Regions from separate parts of the Homo sapiens genome. Here region 2 is linked to region 1. The links are contacts of gene promoters, found by promoter capture Hi-C in blood cells and fetal thymus (Javierre and others, 2016). All regions are on one chromosome and are shown on one strand. Each heading gives the region's core, a stretch centred on a gene start or on the middle of the fragment in contact. The rest is flanking DNA. Distances are from core to core; before and after follow the strand shown. Region 1 holds the start of ITIH4-AS1 (ITIH4 antisense RNA 1). Region 2 overlaps RFT1 (RFT1 glycolipid translocator homolog).

Region 1 (3,275 bases), core at 448-2,947:
CAACTCAGTTTTATGCAGATTTGCAGTAGTTTCTTTCACACTAGTTTCTGGCATTATTATTGTTGTTATATTTTGGTATGATCATGGCTCACTGCACCGTCAAACTCCCAGGTTCAAAAGAAACTCCTGCCTCGGCCTCCCTAGTAGCTGGGACTACAGGCGTGCACCACCACACCTGGCTAATTTTTTTTTTTTTTTTTCCAGTAGAGACAAGGTTGCCCAGGCTGGTCTTGAATTCCTGGGCTCAAGTGATCCTCCCACCTAAGCCTCCCAAAGTGCTGGAATTACAGGCGTGATTCACCACACCCAGCCATTTCTGCCATTGTTATTATACTTCCCTTTTACTCCATGTTTTTGAAGTCTTCCCTCTTTTGATGGTTGTCAGGTTTATGATGTCTGAACTTTTTAGTATAAACCATCTGAAATACTAAAACAAATAGAAGGAAAAGTTGCAGGGAGAGTTCTGGTGGGCTATGCATGAGCAGGGAAGGCTTCCGCAAGAAAGGGGCTGGTCTGAGCCCTGAAAAAGGGCAAGGTTTTGGGGAGGTTAGCAGTGGGATGGAAATGGGATTGGAACAGAGCACAGAAACCCAGAATTTGGGGTAAAGGGGCTGAATGGGGATAGGGCCAATTGTAGCTCTGATGGCCTGGGTGGGTCTCACTCTGGCCACAGATCGAGAACGGCTACTTTGTACACTACTTTGCCCCCGAGGGCCTAACCACAATGCCCAAGAATGTGGTCTTTGTCATTGACAAGAGCGGCTCCATGAGTGGCAGGAAAATCCAGCAGGTAGGTCCTGTGGCCCAGGGCAGGGCCCTGAAAACTCCCAGGCCCTTCACGCTATCAGCTGTGGTCCGGCAGGCAGACCCCCTTGCTTCACCTTTCGGCACCATGGGGCGGGTGGCTCTCAGGAACCAAGGTTGGCCAGAGCCTAGGGCAGCCCCTGTTCCTAGAGCAGATACCATGACCTCACCCCTGAGACAGGAGTCCAAGGATGCCAGCCCTAGGGCACACGAGCCCTCAGGGAGCCCTTCTGAAGCACCTATGTTTCCTCTCCCTGACCAGACCCGGGAAGCCCTAATCAAGATCCTGGATGACCTCAGCCCCAGAGACCAGTTCAACCTCATCGTCTTCAGTACAGAAGCAACTCAGTGGAGGCCATCACTGGTGCCAGCCTCAGCCGAGAACGTGAACAAGGCCAGGAGCTTTGCTGCGGGCATCCAGGCCCTGGGAGGTAAGTGTCTCTGTGGCCCTGCAGGGTGGGGGCTTCCAGGGCTCCTGGCTGGGGACCACCTTGAGAGTGCGTGTTCCTCAGGGACCAACATCAATGATGCAATGCTGATGGCTGTGCAGTTGCTGGACAGCAGCAACCAGGAGGAGCGGCTGCCCGAAGGGAGTGTCTCACTCATCATCCTGCTCACCGATGGCGACCCCACTGTGGGTGAGGGCCCTGCCCGTGACTCCAGGACGTGCTGCACAGGGGAGGCGGCTGGGGCTGCACCTGGGCTTGCTGTGGGATCTGGGCAGGGAGAGGGGGTCACTGAGGCCCCTCGGCTCTGAGGTTCCAGAAATATTCTTCAAGCAAATCACTATTTTCTCACCCTCATCCCAAACCCCTGGGTCCAGGGGAGACTAACCCCAGGAGCATCCAGAATAACGTGCGGGAAGCTGTAAGTGGCCGGTACAGCCTCTTCTGCCTGGGCTTCGGTTTCGACGTCAGCTATGCCTTCCTGGAGAAGCTGGCACTGGACAATGGCGGCCTGGCCCGGCGCATCCATGAGGACTCAGACTCTGCCCTGCAGCTCCAGGTGCCAGTGTGCCCCAGGTGGGCTGCACAGAGAAGTGGGCAGTCATAAAGCCCAGCCTTTATGACACCCCCAACCCTGCAGGACTTCTACCAGGAAGTGGCCAACCCACTGCTGACAGCAGTGACCTTCGAGTACCCAAGCAATGCCGTGGAGGAGGTCACTCAGAACAACTTCCGGCTCCTCTTCAAGGGCTCAGAGATGGTGGTGGCTGGGAAGCTCCAGGACCGGGGGCCTGATGTGCTCACAGCCACAGTCAGTGGGAAGCTGGTGAGTGTGGCCAAAGCCACCCTGGAGGGGAATGGCAGCCTCCACCTCTGCAGCCAGAGGGGCTGGACTCAAATCCCAGACCTGCCCAGCTCCAGCTTTCCCCTCTGCTGCCTGTGGATGACACAGGGGCATGGCAGGGATTCAATGAGACAATGGAGTGATTCTCATGAGACCAGCACATACAGGCTCTCGGCAGCCGGTCTGTGCACCTGCAAGCACAGGTGAGGGCAGGGATTCCTCCCTAGTTGTCATCCCTTCCTGTCCTGGTACCACAACCCTCTCAGGTTGCAGTCAGACAGGGAGGGCTGCTCCTATTTCACAAATGAGCAGACTGAGCTCCAGGCAGGGCAGGCAGCTTTCCCCGGGCCCCACTGCAACCAGGCCAAGAGCCCAGCTTGCCACGTGGCACCCTGTCCTTGCCCAGCCTTCCCTGCCTCCTTCCAGGGACCCCCTGTCATTTCCACAAAGAGAAACTGAGCACAAGCTCTGCGGCAGGGCCTTCTTCAGGCCCTGGGATGCAGCAGTGAATGAGGCTGACCCCTCCGTGCCCTCATGGGAGAGACAACCCAAGGACATATCACCACACAAACCAGCTACAGGCTGGGATCTAACCCTGGACTCAGGAGAGCAGCACCAGGAGCCCCAGCCTGGCCTGGGGATCAGGGAGGGCTTCCTGGAGGAGGCCCAGCAGAGACAAAAGGATAAGTAGGAGGTGGGAAGAGTCCAGATGGGGCAATGGAGGAATATGTTAGGCCCCTGTGGCATGAGGGCAGCGTGTGTGAAGAGAATAGGAGTGGGCGTTGGGGGCCCATGGCCTTGTTTCAGGACAAGTCCCCAAGTGTCATGACTGTTGGTACGGTCTGCGTGGCCACCCTGCCTGGCTTCAAACCCAGCTCTGCCACCTCCCAGATAGGAGACATGGAGAAGTCACTTAACCTCCATCTACTGCAGTTTCCTCCTATGTAAACATGGGAATAAGTCGCATGCCCCCCTCATAAAGTCACTGTGATTGATGTCCAGTGATAAGCACTCCATACATGTCAGCAGGTGATTTAGCTTGGAGGCCGTGGGTTCCCAAAGTACAGAACCCAAGGTGACTCAGGGGAGTTCACAGACAGACATGGCTTGTTTTAGTGGTTATTTACTTATTTTAATGTGTATTCTGAAAAATATGACCTGAACTTCAGACCTAAGATTTT
Region 2 (3,245 bases), core at 525-3,024, 290 kb before region 1:
TGACTGCATGTTTTGTGCCATGCACTACACCAAGCACTTTACATGGATTTTGTGTTTAATTCTCTTAGTAATGTATGAGATAAATACTGTTAGCTCCATTTTACAGACAAGAAAACTGAGGTTCAGAGGAGTTAAGTGACTAATCCAAAATCACATAGCTGGTTTTGGACCCACTTCTCTCCACCTTTTGCTGGGGACTAGCTTTAGACTGTGGCTTACCCCTATGTTATGTAGCCTTCCAAAAGAAATTGGCTTATTGCCCATAGTAGTTATTGTTTACATAAAGATTAGGAAGTTCCAGGTGGAACAATTCATAATTCAGGTTTATTATTTTAAAAAGAAGCCCGGGCATGGTGGCTCACACCTGTAATCCCAGCACTTTGGGAGGCTGAGCGGGCAGATCACTTGAGGTCAGGAGTTGGAAACCAGCCTGGCCCACATGGTGAAACCCCGTCTCTACTAAAAATACAAAACAGTTAGCTGGGCATGGTGGCATGCGCCTGTAATCCCAGCTACTTGGGAGGCTGAGGCAGGAGAACTGCTTGAACCCAGGAGGTGGAGGTTGCAGTGAGCTGAGATCGCACCACTACACTCTAGCCTGGGCAACAGAGCAAGACTCTGTCTCAAAAAAAAAAGAGAAAGAAAAAAAGAGGCTGGGTGTGGTGGCTCAAGCCTGTAATCCCAGCACTTTGGGAGACCGAAGTGGGAGGATTGCTTGAGCCCAGGAGTTTGAGACCAGCCTGGGAAACATGGTAAGAACCCGTCTTTACAAAACATGTAAAATTTAGCTGGGCATGGTGGCACATGCCTGTGATCCCAGCTACTCTGGAGGCTGAGGCAGGAGGATCACTTGAGCCCTGGAGACTGAGGCTACAGTAAGCTGTGTTCATGCTACTGCACTTTAGCCTGGGCGACAGAGTGAAACCCTGTCTCAAAAAAAAAAAAAAAAAAAAGAAATGAGATGATTCTGAATGCATGAACGCAGTGTATGACTTTACCATGAGCAGCATGCCTGACTTGACTCCCCAGAGCAGCTTTCTGCACTGGGGACTTCCTTAATGGAAGCTGGTCAAATAATTATATTTACTATCAATTTGACTTAATTGTAAGATTTCCCTTCCTGTTCTTGTAGAATTCCATCTTCTTTAAAGATGCTTATTTAACCTTATAATAAATTAATGATACTTCAAATAATGGCTTCCGTTTATATTCATTGACATTTCTGAGGGATTTAATATGAGAGATATGCTAATATTTAAGTAAAGCTGAGGAATTTGACTCAGCAAGCATGTATTAAACATTATTATATGTTAGGCACTGTACCAGGTGCCCTGAGTGAGGCCCCTACCCTCAGAACTTGCATGGTGATGGAGAGATAGGATCTGTACTCAACTATGCTATAGGACAGTGTGTGTCTAGCGTTATCAAAATAGAAGCACAGAGGAAGGACTGCTGAATTCCATCTAGGAACATCAAGGAAGGCTTCACGGAGGAAGCTTCTTTTGTGCTGGACTTTGACACATGGGTGGGCAGAGGTTAAATGTATATGTGTGGTAGAGATGGGCATTCGTGACCACAGAAGGAAAGAAAATTTGCTCAGTGCTTGTTACCTGCCCATCATTGTGTTGGAATTGGGAATGTAGAGATGACTGGGGTACTTAGGTTGGCTGGAAAATGGGGGAAGGGAGAGAAAGGAAAAGGTGGCGGGAAGTTATGAAGGGAAGTAAACCTGGCTGCCAGGCTAGGGTCAGGTGGCAGTGGCCTCAGTGCTATGGAGCTTGGGTTTAATTCAGGGGCAGTGGAGCCTAATGAAAGGTTTTTGAACAGCACCATGATCAAACTGTCTGTATTGAGGAGCTTGCCGTCTCTTACAGAGTTATAGTGTCTTATTTTTTTTCATTCAGTCCTCATACTGGCTCCATGAGACAGGACTTCTTATCCCATTTTGCAGATGAGAAAGCCAAGGCTTAGCAAAATTAAGTATCTTGTTCACGGCGACATTTACACTAATAATTCAAGGAACTGCAGGTCGAGCCCCAATCTCCAAGCTTGACTCCAAAGCCTGAACCTGCAATGAGAAGGATAGGCTAGAGAAAGAGTAAGAAGCAAAAAAAGCTCATTGGGAGCCTGTGGCAATTGTCCAGGTGAGGAGTAAGGACAGGGGGAGGATGGATGAAAGTGGGAGGATGGATAAAGCTGGGGCAGCATCAATAGCCCCAGAGTGACTGGGATAGGTGGAGCAAGAGGGAGAGGAAGGAGTGCTCTGTAGGGTGGAGGAGGTGACAGAGGGCAGTGGACAGGATGGTAGCCCCACACTCACCAGTGACTCTTGTCATTGTGGTAAGGATGTGGCTGATCATATCATCCTGAGTCAGAAGAGTTTGGGAAGTGGACGAGTGACTCAGGTGAAAGTGTGATGAGCCTCTGAGTTCTGATTCCAGACCTTCCCTGGAGTTACCATCCATCACCTTTTACCACCTTAGCCGCCATTTCTCCGTTAGTACAGTGAGGGCAGTGGAATGGCTTGTTGGTCAGGGTATTCCAGGGAAATTCCTGGCTATTTAGATCAGCTCATCAGTACCAACCCAGCTATTGTGAAATAGGCCTCTTTTGACCGCCCCAAGTGACACCTCCATTCTGAACCTCCATTCTGAATAGAATGGTAACAGTCCACCATATGCTTCCTCTCTCCCACCACTCAGCCCCTGCCTGCAGAAGCCGCATCTCAGATTGGATTTCCTGCCTCTGTGTCCTTAATGAGCACTTTTAGTAAGTGGTGTCACCATTCCTTCTGAACCACAGGCCCATTTAAACCAAAGGCATTAGGAAAATCAAGTATGAGCTCTCAGATTAGGTACACCATCATGATCTCATTCTCCCAAAGAACTTTGTCTTTAAAGAGCTCAATCATCTTCCCAAATCCATTCACAACCTGCAGGCAAACAGGCATCACGAGAGCCTCATGACAAGCAGCAGCCTTCGTTTCCTTTTAAAAGGGGACAGGTCCTGCTTTGCTGACCCCTGGGAGGACCACCACAGCATGGCAAGGGGTGAGGAGCAGTGTGAGAGAGAGAAGGTGCTGAAGCCGGCTGTGGTCAGAATCCAAGTCTGAAGATGACGTGGTCCCCAGTGCCCCCTAGTGGTAGGAAGTTGTCTGGTGCTCTTTGTTCCGGGGAAAGGAGATGGCCTGTTTTAAACATCTTGTGGCCCAATTTCCTTCTCATCAGGGAAGATTTACTCCTGGG

Evidence for each region. The method cuts DNA at HindIII sites, captures the fragments that hold promoters and counts their contacts. A CHiCAGO score of 5 or more calls a contact.
Region 2: a fragment that was not itself captured here is called in contact with the fragment with the promoter of ITIH4-AS1 in region 1 in 1 of 17 cell types (naive CD4 T cells); the score reaches 5.5 in naive CD4 T cells.

The regions. Positions count from the first base shown.
Region 1 is chr3:52,822,357-52,825,631 of GRCh38, reverse strand. It overlaps ITIH4-AS1 (ITIH4 antisense RNA 1), which reads right to left and starts at 1,697. Exons shown (of 3, transcript NR_046615.1): 1 at 1,639-1,697; 2 at 1,295-1,520; 3 at 318-427. It overlaps ITIH4 (inter-alpha-trypsin inhibitor heavy chain 4), which reads left to right. Exons shown (of 24, transcript NM_002218.5): 7 at 674-790; 8 at 1,067-1,235; 9 at 1,317-1,442; 10 at 1,628-1,809; 11 at 1,891-2,076. RefSeq lists a silencer at 1,216-1,373. The HindIII fragment of the contact is 13,495 bases long and covers 1-3,275 here.
Region 2 is chr3:53,114,000-53,117,244 of GRCh38, reverse strand. The region is part of intron 6 of RFT1 (RFT1 glycolipid translocator homolog); the gene reads left to right. Among named protein-coding and RNA genes, the nearest start is that of RFT1, 15 kb to the left of the region's middle. RefSeq lists an enhancer at 1,712-2,911. The HindIII fragment of the contact is 552 bases long and covers 1,499-2,050 here.